Regions from separate parts of the Homo sapiens genome. Here region 1 is linked to region 2. The links are contacts of gene promoters, found by promoter capture Hi-C in blood cells and fetal thymus (Javierre and others, 2016). All regions are on one chromosome and are shown on one strand. Each heading gives the region's core, a stretch centred on a gene start or on the middle of the fragment in contact. The rest is flanking DNA. Distances are from core to core; before and after follow the strand shown. Region 1 has its middle 60 kb from the start of PCGF5. Region 2 holds the start of GLUD1 (glutamate dehydrogenase 1).

The links. Contacts are between HindIII fragments. The CHiCAGO score rates a contact against its expected background, and 5 or more counts as called.
Region 1: a contact is called between a fragment that was not itself captured here and the fragment with the promoter of GLUD1 in region 2, in 2 of 17 cell types (non-activated CD4 T cells and naive CD8 T cells). The highest score is 9.1, in non-activated CD4 T cells.

What each region holds. Positions count from the first base shown.
Region 1 is chr10:91,157,665-91,163,362 of GRCh38, forward strand. It overlaps a transcript of PCGF5 not described here. Among named protein-coding and RNA genes, the nearest start is that of PCGF5, 60 kb to the right of the region's middle. RefSeq lists silencers at 4,814-4,903, 5,004-5,673. The HindIII fragment of the contact is 4,422 bases long and covers 525-4,946 here.
Region 2 is chr10:87,092,822-87,097,952 of GRCh38, forward strand. GLUD1 (glutamate dehydrogenase 1) reads right to left here and starts at 2,022. Exons shown (of 13, transcript NM_005271.5): 1 at 1,504-2,022. The coding sequence starts at 1,948. SHLD2 (shieldin complex subunit 2) reads left to right here and starts at 2,385. Exons shown (of 10, transcript NM_001330112.2): 1 at 2,385-2,427; 2 at 4,113-4,168. RefSeq lists enhancers at 34-571, 2,976-3,035 and silencers at 1,256-1,595, 1,796-1,935, 2,056-2,755, 2,676-2,933. The HindIII fragment of the contact is 4,292 bases long and covers 1-3,540 here.

The DNA.
Region 1 (5,698 bases), core at 1,486-3,985, 4.1 Mb after region 2:
AAGAGCCCAATGGATGGTGGTGATTGGCATAAACAGGGAAGCCAGGAGGGGAGTTGACAGTGGGAAATTCACTTTTAGCTGTGTTTTAAGGACACATGATAAGAGGATGGAGCATGGGATGAGTGCTGTGGGAACTGGAGATTCCGCCACTAACATTTTTGTTCCTCAATTTCCTCTTTCAAAAATGATAAGTTGATCTAGAATTAATCCTTTGGATTCCTTCCAACTTCCTAGAGGAAGCATGTAAATGAATTAGAGGAAGTAGAAGGTAGATTTCAGGAATTCAAGAGGCAGTGAGTGATCAAGGTATTGGATCATTAGTCTGGCCTTGAAGTAAAAGAGAGAAGTGGGACAATTACTTACTTTTTAAGATTAAGACAAATGGTGCCTTTTAAGAAATGACTTAGGCAGGATTAATTAATACACCCATATGTAGAATACAGGCTGTTGACAATTAACCTAAGAAATCTAAAGTAAAATGTGTAACAATGAAAGTCAAGTAGACTTTATTTATAGGAGAGATAAGCTTCAGTTTGTGTGGTGTGATATGAAGGTGTTGGGAAAGTCCAGCTGCCCCAAAAATGTCTTCCTGATCTTCTTAAAATACTGCCTGGCTTTACACCATTAAAATAAACCTCTTTAAATGTACTTCATAATATAAAATGCACATTTATTTCACATTCAGCTGTTACCATGCTTTCCGGTGCATTAGGGTAACAGGATGACAACTAGCTACGGCGAACTGAGGAGACAAAGATTTGAAGGGGGAGGAGGAAGGGATTCCTTTGGTATTTGGTGCAGCATTACTCAAGTCAGTCAGTTCAACAACATGTGGCTGCCTATTATACTCCAGATATTGAGCTAGGTTCTAGACATTAAAAGGCAAGTAAGTTGTGGTTCATTGCCTCAAGATGCTTATGGTCAAGAGAGAGTGGACTACATAAAGGTCATGGGGCTGGAGGAGTTTTGAAAAGTGGGACCAGCGACTAGGTAAAAAGGAAGAGGGACAAAGAAATTTGTTCTCTTCCATCACAACTTTGTTGAAGAATTAGATACCCCAAACAATGCTTTTTCTTGGTCCCAGTGAATCCCCCTAAGGAACTACTAAAATTTAAGCTGGTAGAGTTGACACCCTGTAGGCTGAAGAATAACAGATAATTTGAATATCTTTAACTCAATATTTTTGGCCCTTTGAAATTTAAATTAGTAAAATTTTACTATATCAGAACTTGTAACCTAAACAGTTGACTATAAAATACAGGTTTGCTGATAATTTTTCCTGCTCCCTTTCTCCCCTGGAACTTCACAGTATGCTAAGATTGCTGAGGACTGGTGGGGGGATCCAGGGCTAGCAGAAGCAGGAAGCAGGAAGCAGGAAATGTAGAGAAATTGGAGCTAGAAAGATAACTGAGCACTTCTTTAAACAGCAGACTAGAGGAGCACCATATCTTCACAGATGGTGTTAAACAAGCATCATAAGACATAGCTTCAAATAATGCAGGGAACATACAATTAGGGCCACAAAAACTTGGGGTACCAGTTCTAGTTCTGGTATTTACTAGCTGGATAGCCACAGGAAGTCATAATTTTTTTTTGCCTATATTTAATGAGTACTGTCTATATGCCAGGCACCTATAACATGTCTATAATTGACTGAATGTTCATGGCTCCCCTCAAATTCATATGTTGAAATCCTACCCTCCAGTGTGATGGTATTGGGAGGTGGGGCCTTTGGGAAGTAATTAAGTCATGAGAGTGGAGTCCTCATTAATGGGATGACTGCCCTCATAAAAGGAACCCCAGAGAGCTCCGAGGCTCAGTGTCTTTTCACTATGTAAGGATACCATGAGAAGTCAGCACTCCAGAGGAGGAAGAAAGGCCCTCAGCCAACCCCTGACTGTGCTGGCACTCTGATGTCATACTTCCAGCCTCCAGAACTGTGAGAAATGAATGTTTGTTGTTTAAGCCACCCAGTTTATGGTAGTTTGTTATGGCAGTCTGAACTGGGCAAGAGTGTTTTACATATGACGATATTTCATTCTCATGACAACCCACTGAAGTAGATTCTATCATTTTTCTCTATTTTATAGATAAGAAAACTTACCCACAGATAATTCAAGGTCAGATAAACTAAAATTTGTTAAAGTAGGGATTTGAATACAGGTAGTCAAACTCTAATGCCCATGTTTAATCATTATGATATCCCAGGTATTAAGTCTTTTGGGCTTCAGTTCCCTCACTTAAAACTGGACACGTTGCACCAAACAATGTTGAAAATTCTTTCTGGCTTTAAACACTATGATTCTAATTATATAAATCATATCTATATTTAATACGCTCATGGTTAATCTGTGTTTCGGAATAGTCTCAGAGAACTGAGAGCTGAAGACAAGTTTCTGAAATATGGCTTCATTTCTTAGTTATCCCTTGTTTCAGTCAACGTAAACCACATAATTTACTCTTCCACCAAGAATACCCTTCCTCCATTTCCATCTGTTGAAAATCTATCCATCCTTCAAGTGCCAGCTGAAATGCACCTCCTCTAAATAGCCATTCTCAGTCTTTGGGGATTTAAAGTGCGGATGTATTAGACTGTTGGGCGTTGGGATTTGGGCGAAGTATCTGTGCTAATGAAAGGAAAAGATGTAGGATAAGAAGAAAGGTTGCAGGGAACCACGTACAGGAAAGGTAAGAGAACCGTCAGCAGTGTTGTTGGTGACGGGCACAAAGCCTTCCTTGTGACAGGCAATAGCAAAGTCACCAGATTATATTAAATGTTGCCCAGCTAGTAGGAGTGAGATGAAGATTAAATGAGAACGTTTGTAAAATATCTACTACACTGTCTGGAAGGGCAGCAACAGGATAATTCCTAATCTCTTCCTTCCATAGGCAACTGGTCATCTCCTTCATGCTGAAGAAAGCTGCCATCCTGCCCAGGGAGGAGTAGGACAAGAAGAGGGGAGAAGAGACTCTGGGGGGGAAAAGAAGTCAGGCGGAGATATATGGGAACACAAAGAAAAAACGAGAGCCAGAGTACACAAGACGAGACAGAAAAAAGAAATGTAAGGGAGTGACGGCGAAGAAGAGGATAGAACGGTAATGGAAGCAGAAGGGCAAAGAGGGACAAGTAAGAAGGAGAGAATTCTAGGCCTCGGGAAGAGAAAGTTCCTGCTGCACTGCGGAATCCGGCCTAAAGGAAGAGGCAACCAGGTGCAGCACCCAAGCCCAGGTGCCAGTCATTTGCCGCTGGGCTCTCAGACCCATTCTCCTTTTGCGGCTGTCACATATTCTGTAGGGATTCTGAGCCCTGCCCTCTGTCATCTTGTCCACTGGCTTCTCCTGCTTTCCACCACTGGGTGGGCTTGGAGGGTGGGAGGCAGGGAGAAGCCAGGGGGACTCTCATCCCCTACTTTGGAAGATGTCTGCCGCAGTAGTTGCACTAACTTTGTGGCTCCAACTCCTATTGGACAAGCCCTCCAGGGTTCCGGCTGTCTCCTCTCTTTGCCCCTCCAGCCTCAGGGGAGAAGGCACGTCCAGCAGTTGCTAATCTCAGGATTGCCTCACCTTACCCTAGTTGAACGTCCAGTTCTTTCAACACTTGTAACTAATTTGCTGCATTAAATTATTGCTATTGACTCGCTTGGGAAAGAATACTTTCGCTGGATTCACTTGCAGAGTTCAAAGACACTTTTCCTAATGGGACTGCAAGCAGCGCATCGGAGAAAAAAATCTAGCAGTCCCAGGAGTCAAGAAGGGTCAGGGTCTACTTCAGTGTGTGATCAGACAGCGACAAACCCACACTACCTAACAGGGCCGGAAGGCTCTTAGCCTAGGAATTAGCTGTAAAATGACTGGGTTCATGTCTACTTTTTCATGATTTACTCTATTCTCTTTGATCACCGCCAGCCTTGGCTTAAGGAACATCTCTGTAGAATTCAATTTTATTCCTCAAGGGTTACTTAAGTGCCCATTATGAGTATGGAGGGCACATAGCTAGGTGTGGTGGGGAGGAGATATAGAGACGCAGGAAAAATGGAGGGCATGCTCAGTTTTTGGAAGTGTTTGCTTCCTGCAAGATGAGGTTTGCGGACCTATCAGGAGAGCCTCTTGATAAAGACTCCTGAACTTTTCCAGTCTCACCAGAGCTGCAGACACTCGGAGGCAATATTAGTCTTACAGCTTTCATTTCTCCCATCACCAGAGCTCTGTTAAAAGCAGACTCCTCTTTAAGGAATCCACAGATCAGAGAGGGTACAGCACATGCACACAACTGACCCCCAGGTCAGAATGATGCCAGCCACAAGGGGGGATTCTGCTTGGGGGAGCAGGAAGACTGCACAGAGATGGTAGGAGACGGCTACAGGAGCTGAGTCCAACAAAGTTTGACAGGTGGAGGCGGCTAAGGGGTATTCTGGCAGAGAACAGAGAAGGATCAAAATAAAGTGTCAAAGGACAGACACATTTCAGGTGTTGTCTGTAAACGGAGGCTTTGGGGTGAGGGTAGGGAAGTGGAGGGGAGACTGAAAAATGGAGGCCCAGCTATTGAGGACTCTGAGAATGAGGCATTAAGGCTCGAGGCCATGGTGAGTCACTGGAGGATCTTCAGCATCAGGGCGGCAAGGTCACTTCTGGTGGGGTGGCGGGGGTGGGGTGGGGTGGGGGGACTTTGCGATTAGAAGCAAAGAAGCTGGAGGCAGGAAAAGAAACTGCGAGCTCTCGGGTGGAGGGCAGCTTATACGGGAAGCCTGGACTTGACCATCGCCAGGGAGGCATACTGACATTCGAGCTGCCTTCCATCTATTCAAGGGCACGCTTCCTCCGTCTGTGGGGGGAGAAGGTGCCCCCTCAGAGGCTGTACGATTCGAAGTCTCCGGCCTGAGAAGTTTCGAATTTCTCCTTGCCAAGGTCGGGCCACTACAGGTGGGAGACTGCGAGCCCCGAGCGAAAGCTTGGCTTCACGCCCGCCCGGGGCAGCCGCCGCGGCTCGTCCCCTCCAGGCCTGGGCACCGCCGTGGGCCGTGCCCGGCAGGACGCTCCGGGAGCTGCGCGGCGGCGGCTCGAGGAGGCCTGGCGGGCGGCGGCGAGAGGCTGTGCCCCAGTTTGTGTCCAATCAGGGAGTGCGGGCTGTGCCCCGAGCCGGGCAGCAATGCGTAAACAAACCCACGGTAACTCCTCCGCCCCCTCGGCGCGCTCGCCCCGCGCCCGCCGCCGCCAGCGCCGCCGCCGCCGCCGCGGGCTCTGCTCTCCTCGCGCCCGCCCGCCGGGCCGGCCCAGCCCCCGCCCCGCGCCGCTCGCACCCCCGCTGCCCCGCCCCGCCCCCGCCGGCGCGGGCTCCCTCACCTACCGCCCCACGCGCGCGCGCTCGCGCACCACGCGCCCCGCGCGGCCCGCCCGGATCGTGGCCTCTCGAGAGCAAGGTAAGGGCGATGCGCGGGGACCCAGGCGGCTTCCCCGCCCGACGCGGCCCAGGGAAGTTTCTGGCGTGGCTGTTTTCCGCGGGGCCGGGGGGGAGGCCCCGGGAGCCAGGCGAGCCCGGCGGGCGGGAGGGGGCCGCCTGGCGCCCCGGGGTCACAAGTTGCCTAACCTGACCTCGGTGCGGGCCGGTGGGCGGCGCGGCCGGGCTGGCGGCGCGCGGAAAGGGGCTGGAGGCACGGCGGGGCCGGGCGCCGGGCGGGCAAGGGGAGGGCCCCGAGGAACT
Region 2 (5,131 bases), core at 772-3,271:
AAACATTGCCTGAACTTCCTCCAACATCCTTATTTGCCTTTCTTTGGAGTCTGAACTTGTTTTCCTGGTTTGGATAATAAGGGAGTGGTAGGAAGAAGGCAGGCAAATGTAGGAGACTGACGGTGTGTACATTTTATACAATTTTGAAGCTAGAAAGGAAATCAGAGGTCAAAGTGGTTCAAACATTGGTTTTGGCTGAGGCAACCAGAGCTAGGGGATAATTAAGCTCCAAAGTTAAGTCCTAGAAGTGGGCGGGGTCAATGCAAATTTAGTAAATCTTTAAAAACAACCTTTGTCCCCCCTGCTGGGAACACCAGCACCGCTCAAGTTTTTTCCGGTACAGAGAGGATTTCTAAAAATCCTCATAAGTCAGCGGGCATAACTGAAAGACCACAGAACCAGGTTTACTGAGACATGGGTCTAGCCCAACATCCTCTGTGCTTCTCAGCCAATCCACCTCCAACAAGACTCCTCGCCTCCCTGGGCTCTTTATTCCATATAATTTTTCTTTTTTACAGTAGACAAAAGTGGTTTGTCCTTTCCATTTTATGTTACTAAAGAGGTATGATGCAATGTATTGGGGGGAAAAAAGCTCTTATTTGCTCGAAGAAAGCAATCTGACTACAGAGGCCAAATCTACAGACATTAAATGATTTAAACCACAGGATAACCCAGTGACTACCAAACATTATCTGACCCCTTTCTTCACGTACTATATTTTTCCTGAAGCTCAAATTCAGGGCTAGCCAGGACCAGTACACACCCCCAGAGCTATTTCATTCCATTGGCTGGCTGGCCATCCGCAGCCTACAACCTGTAAATTTACTGTCAGGACGCCAGGTGTTTATTTGTCAGAGATATTACATTGCTTGTGATTTTTTTGTGTTTTTCCTTTTTTTTGGTATAAAACAGAACTTGTCAGAATGGGAAAATTACTTAATTGAAACGATTAACGCGTGATTAGTAAATTCCTTTGGTTAATAAAACTGTCTAGATTTCAAACTTAGAAGCCAAGTCATTTTCTATGTTCGGATATCATCTGTCACTATTGGAACAGGAGTGAACAAATACCAGAAAATAATTTGACAGCTTGCATTTAGGGGAGACTCACAAAAGCCCAAGAACACTGACGAGGCATTATCACACGGGCAGGTCATTCCCTTTCCTAGAAGTGCATTTCGGCAGGACCCGCCGTGTGTGACACAGACACCGGGACCAAAAGGAGACCGGTGCAGCGTCTACTCTGCATGCAAGATCAGCATATACAGAGGCCCGGGGTGACGGCGCGGGGGAGGGGGCAGGCCAATCGCATGATGATTTTAAGGCGGAAAAATCACCATCCACAGAGCCGGCCACATCCGAGGCGGGGTGACCCGGGCGGGGACCCGGCCCGCTCCAGCTGGGCTGGGCTGGGCTGAGCAGCGGCCCCGCACCGGCAGGAGGCCGGAGGGGAGGGCCGCAGGGGAGGCAGGGAGGGCGGGACGGGGCCCGGCCGACGCTCACCTCCCTTGCAGGGCGTGCGGTGCTGGCTGTGCTGGGCCCGGTAGCCTTCGATGACCTCCCAGGAGCCGTCGTCGCGCCGGATGGGGAAGGAGAGACTCAGCACATGGTTGCAGGGCTTGATGATCCGCAGGATGCCGCGCACCCGGTTCCGCTTCTGCTCCTCGCTCTCCCGGGTCCTCAGGTCCTCCACCAGCTTGTCCTCCACGATGCTGGCGCCGCGATCGAAGAAGCCCTCCACCATCTTGAAGAAGTTGGGGTCGTCCTCGCGGTCGGCCACCGCCTCGCTGTAGTGGCGCCGGGCGGCCAATGCCAGCCCCGGCTGCGGGGCGGCGGCGGGCTGTCCCCGGGCCCAGCCCAGCAACGCGGCCGAGTCGGCGGACGCCGAGCCCAGGGCAGCGGGCCCGGCCCGGGACAGCAACAGCGCTTCGCCCAGGTAGCGGTACATGGCCACAAGCGGAGGGGAGGTGCGTGATGGTCGCGAAACAGGCGCGCTTTCTCAGACTCCCCGCGACTAGGGAGGAAGGGTCCCGCGCGGGTTGCCCTTTTAAGCCGCAGCTTCCTGCTTGCCCGGCTGTCCCCTCCCCTCGGGCGCTCGCCACCTAACGGGGAGGACGGACTTCGGGGACAGGGCGCCGCCCAGGGCGCCGGGCCTCCGCCTCCGCCGCGGCCTCCCCGGGCCTCGCTGGCGGCAGCGCGCGCCGGCGGGGCGTCGGGGGCGCGCAGGCGCGGGCGGGCTCGGCGCGCACGCTCGCGCGCCAGTGGGGAAGGGAGGGGAGGGGAGAGGAAGGGCGGGGAGGAGAGTGGAGGGGAACGGACGGGAGGGGCAGGGAGGGGAAGGTCGGGGCGGGTCGGGGCGGGTCGGGGCGGGCCCACGGGCGGCCGGATTTGCCCGGAGGCCGCACCCGCCTCCGGCGGGGCTCTCAGGTATGTGCGCCGCGGGGGTCCCTCAGGGGGGTTGGGGGTAGCCCAGGGAGGTCGGGGTCGGGGGCTGGCCTCTGTAGGGCGCTCAGAGGCCGAGTCCCCCCGAGCGCCGCGTGGGTGAGGCTTGGCGGTCTGGTCGGGGACCGGGTCATGTGAGTCACGGGCGCCCCTCCTTTCCGCCCGCGCGCCCTCGGAACGGGCGGCCCACCCTGGCCTGTCCTCTGGCGGCCTCAGGCCGGGGCCGGGCGTGCAGGGGCTGACACGTGGGCAGGAAAGCGAGGCAGAGCCGCCGCCGCGTAAGGCCGGGCTGAGGGCTCGGCGTCACCAGCCAGGGCTGCAGAGAGCGGCGTGGCACCCGGAGTTGGATTATGCGTGGCTGGCGTGAGCTGGAAGGGAGTCACTCGCCCACAAGCTCTCACCACGCGAGCTTTTATTGTCCCGTTCAACTGCTCCGCAGTGTGGAGATCGCATAGTTACGCACGTCGTGGTTGTGTCGCCCCACAGTACTGACTGCTTCACCTTTGCAGACAGAGGCTCCGGCCCGGCGCGGTGGCTCACGCCTTTAGTCCTAGCACTTTGGGAGGTCGAGGCTGGAGGATGGCTTGAGCCCAGGAGTTCGAGGCTGCAGTGAGCTACGATAGCTCCACTGCACCCCAGCCTGGGCAACAGAGGGAGACCCTATCTCCCTCTGAAATAGTCTAAAATAAGGAAACTAGAAATGCGATAATGCCCCCAGGAAATTCTTTCTCAGGAATATATGTATTTGTTAAATGGTTCAGTATATGATTTATTTTTTATTTTATTTATTTATTTGAGATGGAATCTTGCTCTGTCGCCCAGGCGGGAGTGTAGTGGCACCATCTCGGCTCACTGCAGCTTCCACCTCCCTGGGTTCGTTCTAGCGATTCTCCTGCCTCAGCCTCGGGGTAGCTGGGATTACAGGCCCGCGCCACCACGCCCGGCTAATTTTTGCATTTTTAGTAGAGACGGGGTTTCGCTGTGCTGGCCAGGCTGGTCTCCAACGCCTGACCTCAAGTGATCCGCCCGCCTAGGCCTCCCAGAATGCTGGGATTACAGACGTGAGCCACCGCGCCTGGCCTCAGTATATGATTTATAAGCTTTATGCTGTATGAGGGTTCAGTTATGTATTTATACATACTTGATAGGAAATGCTAAAGTTCACATTCCTATGGATAGCTTTTGGTGCTTTTCAAACTAACGAGGCTGGCACGGTGGCTCACGCCTGTAATCCCAGCACTTTGGGGGCCAAAGCAGGCTGATCGCTTGAGGCCAGGAGTTCAAGACCAGCCTGGGCTCGTCTCTATAAAAAGAAAATAAAAAATAAAGCTCTAATGACAGTCATTAAAACTAGCTGCCAAACACCACATTACTAGCGTTAGCGGTCTCAGTGTACTTGGGTGGTTTTAAAATGACACCCATTGGACCTGCAAAACGATGGTGCTTCCCGATATGTTCATGTTATTCATCTTTTAGAATATGGAAGAGAAAGTTCTTAGTTCTCGAAATATTGTGTAAAATATAAGGTGACAACCTGGATCTGTTAAATGACATTCATCTAAGTGTACTCTCAAAGTCAAAATTATCTTTTCATACAGGTGGAACTTATATTTTACCTTACTTGCTAAATAAGTCATTGTCATTAATTGTATTTGCACTGTGTTTTTCAGTGAAAAATGTACTCTGACCTGAATCCTGAATTTTCCTTGATGGTCAAAAGATTAAGGTATCAAATTTCCTTTTTTCTGGATGTATTATCGTTTTACTCTCTTACATTGCAATCCCCCACTCCTGCAAAAAACCCACGGAGTTTCAGAATAAAATGATTAGCATCAGTAAACATGGAAATATTTTTCTTTTTGGATTAAATTATTTGTTTATGTTCTGAGGAAAAATCTTTAAAAGCTTAGTTTTATTGTTTTTGTTGTTCTTTATAACCTTAGCCTTCAGAAAAATAAATGTTTAACTTTGCTTCTTCTGTGACTTGTTCACCTGAATTCAAGAAGGTGGAATTGGGCCTAAGGAGGTGGCTCACGCCTGTAATCCCAGCACTTTAGGAGGCTAAAGTGGGCGGATCACTTGAGGTCAGGAGTTCGAGACCAGCCTGGGCAACACAGTGAAACCTTGTCTCTACTAAAAATACAAAAATAAGCCAAGCGTGGTGGGGGGCCTACAAAAATTAGCCAGGCGTGGTGGCGGGGAGGGGGTTGGGCAGTGCTTGTAGTTCCAGCTACTTGGGAGAACCACTTGAACCAGGGAGAGAGGTTGCAGTGAGCCGAGATCGTGCCATTGCACTCCAGCCTGGGCAACAGAGCGAGTCTTCATCTCAAAAAAGGAAAGGCAGAATTGAAGAAGCTTTGGAAGAGGTGAGGAATAGAGCTGTGGAAATTACTATTTTTTTTTTAATTGAGAATCTCCTGTGTGTAGGTGCCTTACAAACTGGCTTCATGAGTACCCTATAAAACAGATGTTTTTATTTTTAAAATCATCATGGTTTTGTTTTGTTTTGTTTTTTTGAGACAGTCTTGCTCTGTTGCCCATGCTGGAGTGCAGTGGTGCAATCTCAGCTCACTGCAGCCTCTGCCTCCCAGGTTCCAGTGATTCTCCTGCCTCAGCCTCCCGAGCAGCTGGGATTACAGGCGCCCGCCACCATGCCAGGCTAATTTTTTTGTATTTTTAATAGAGACGA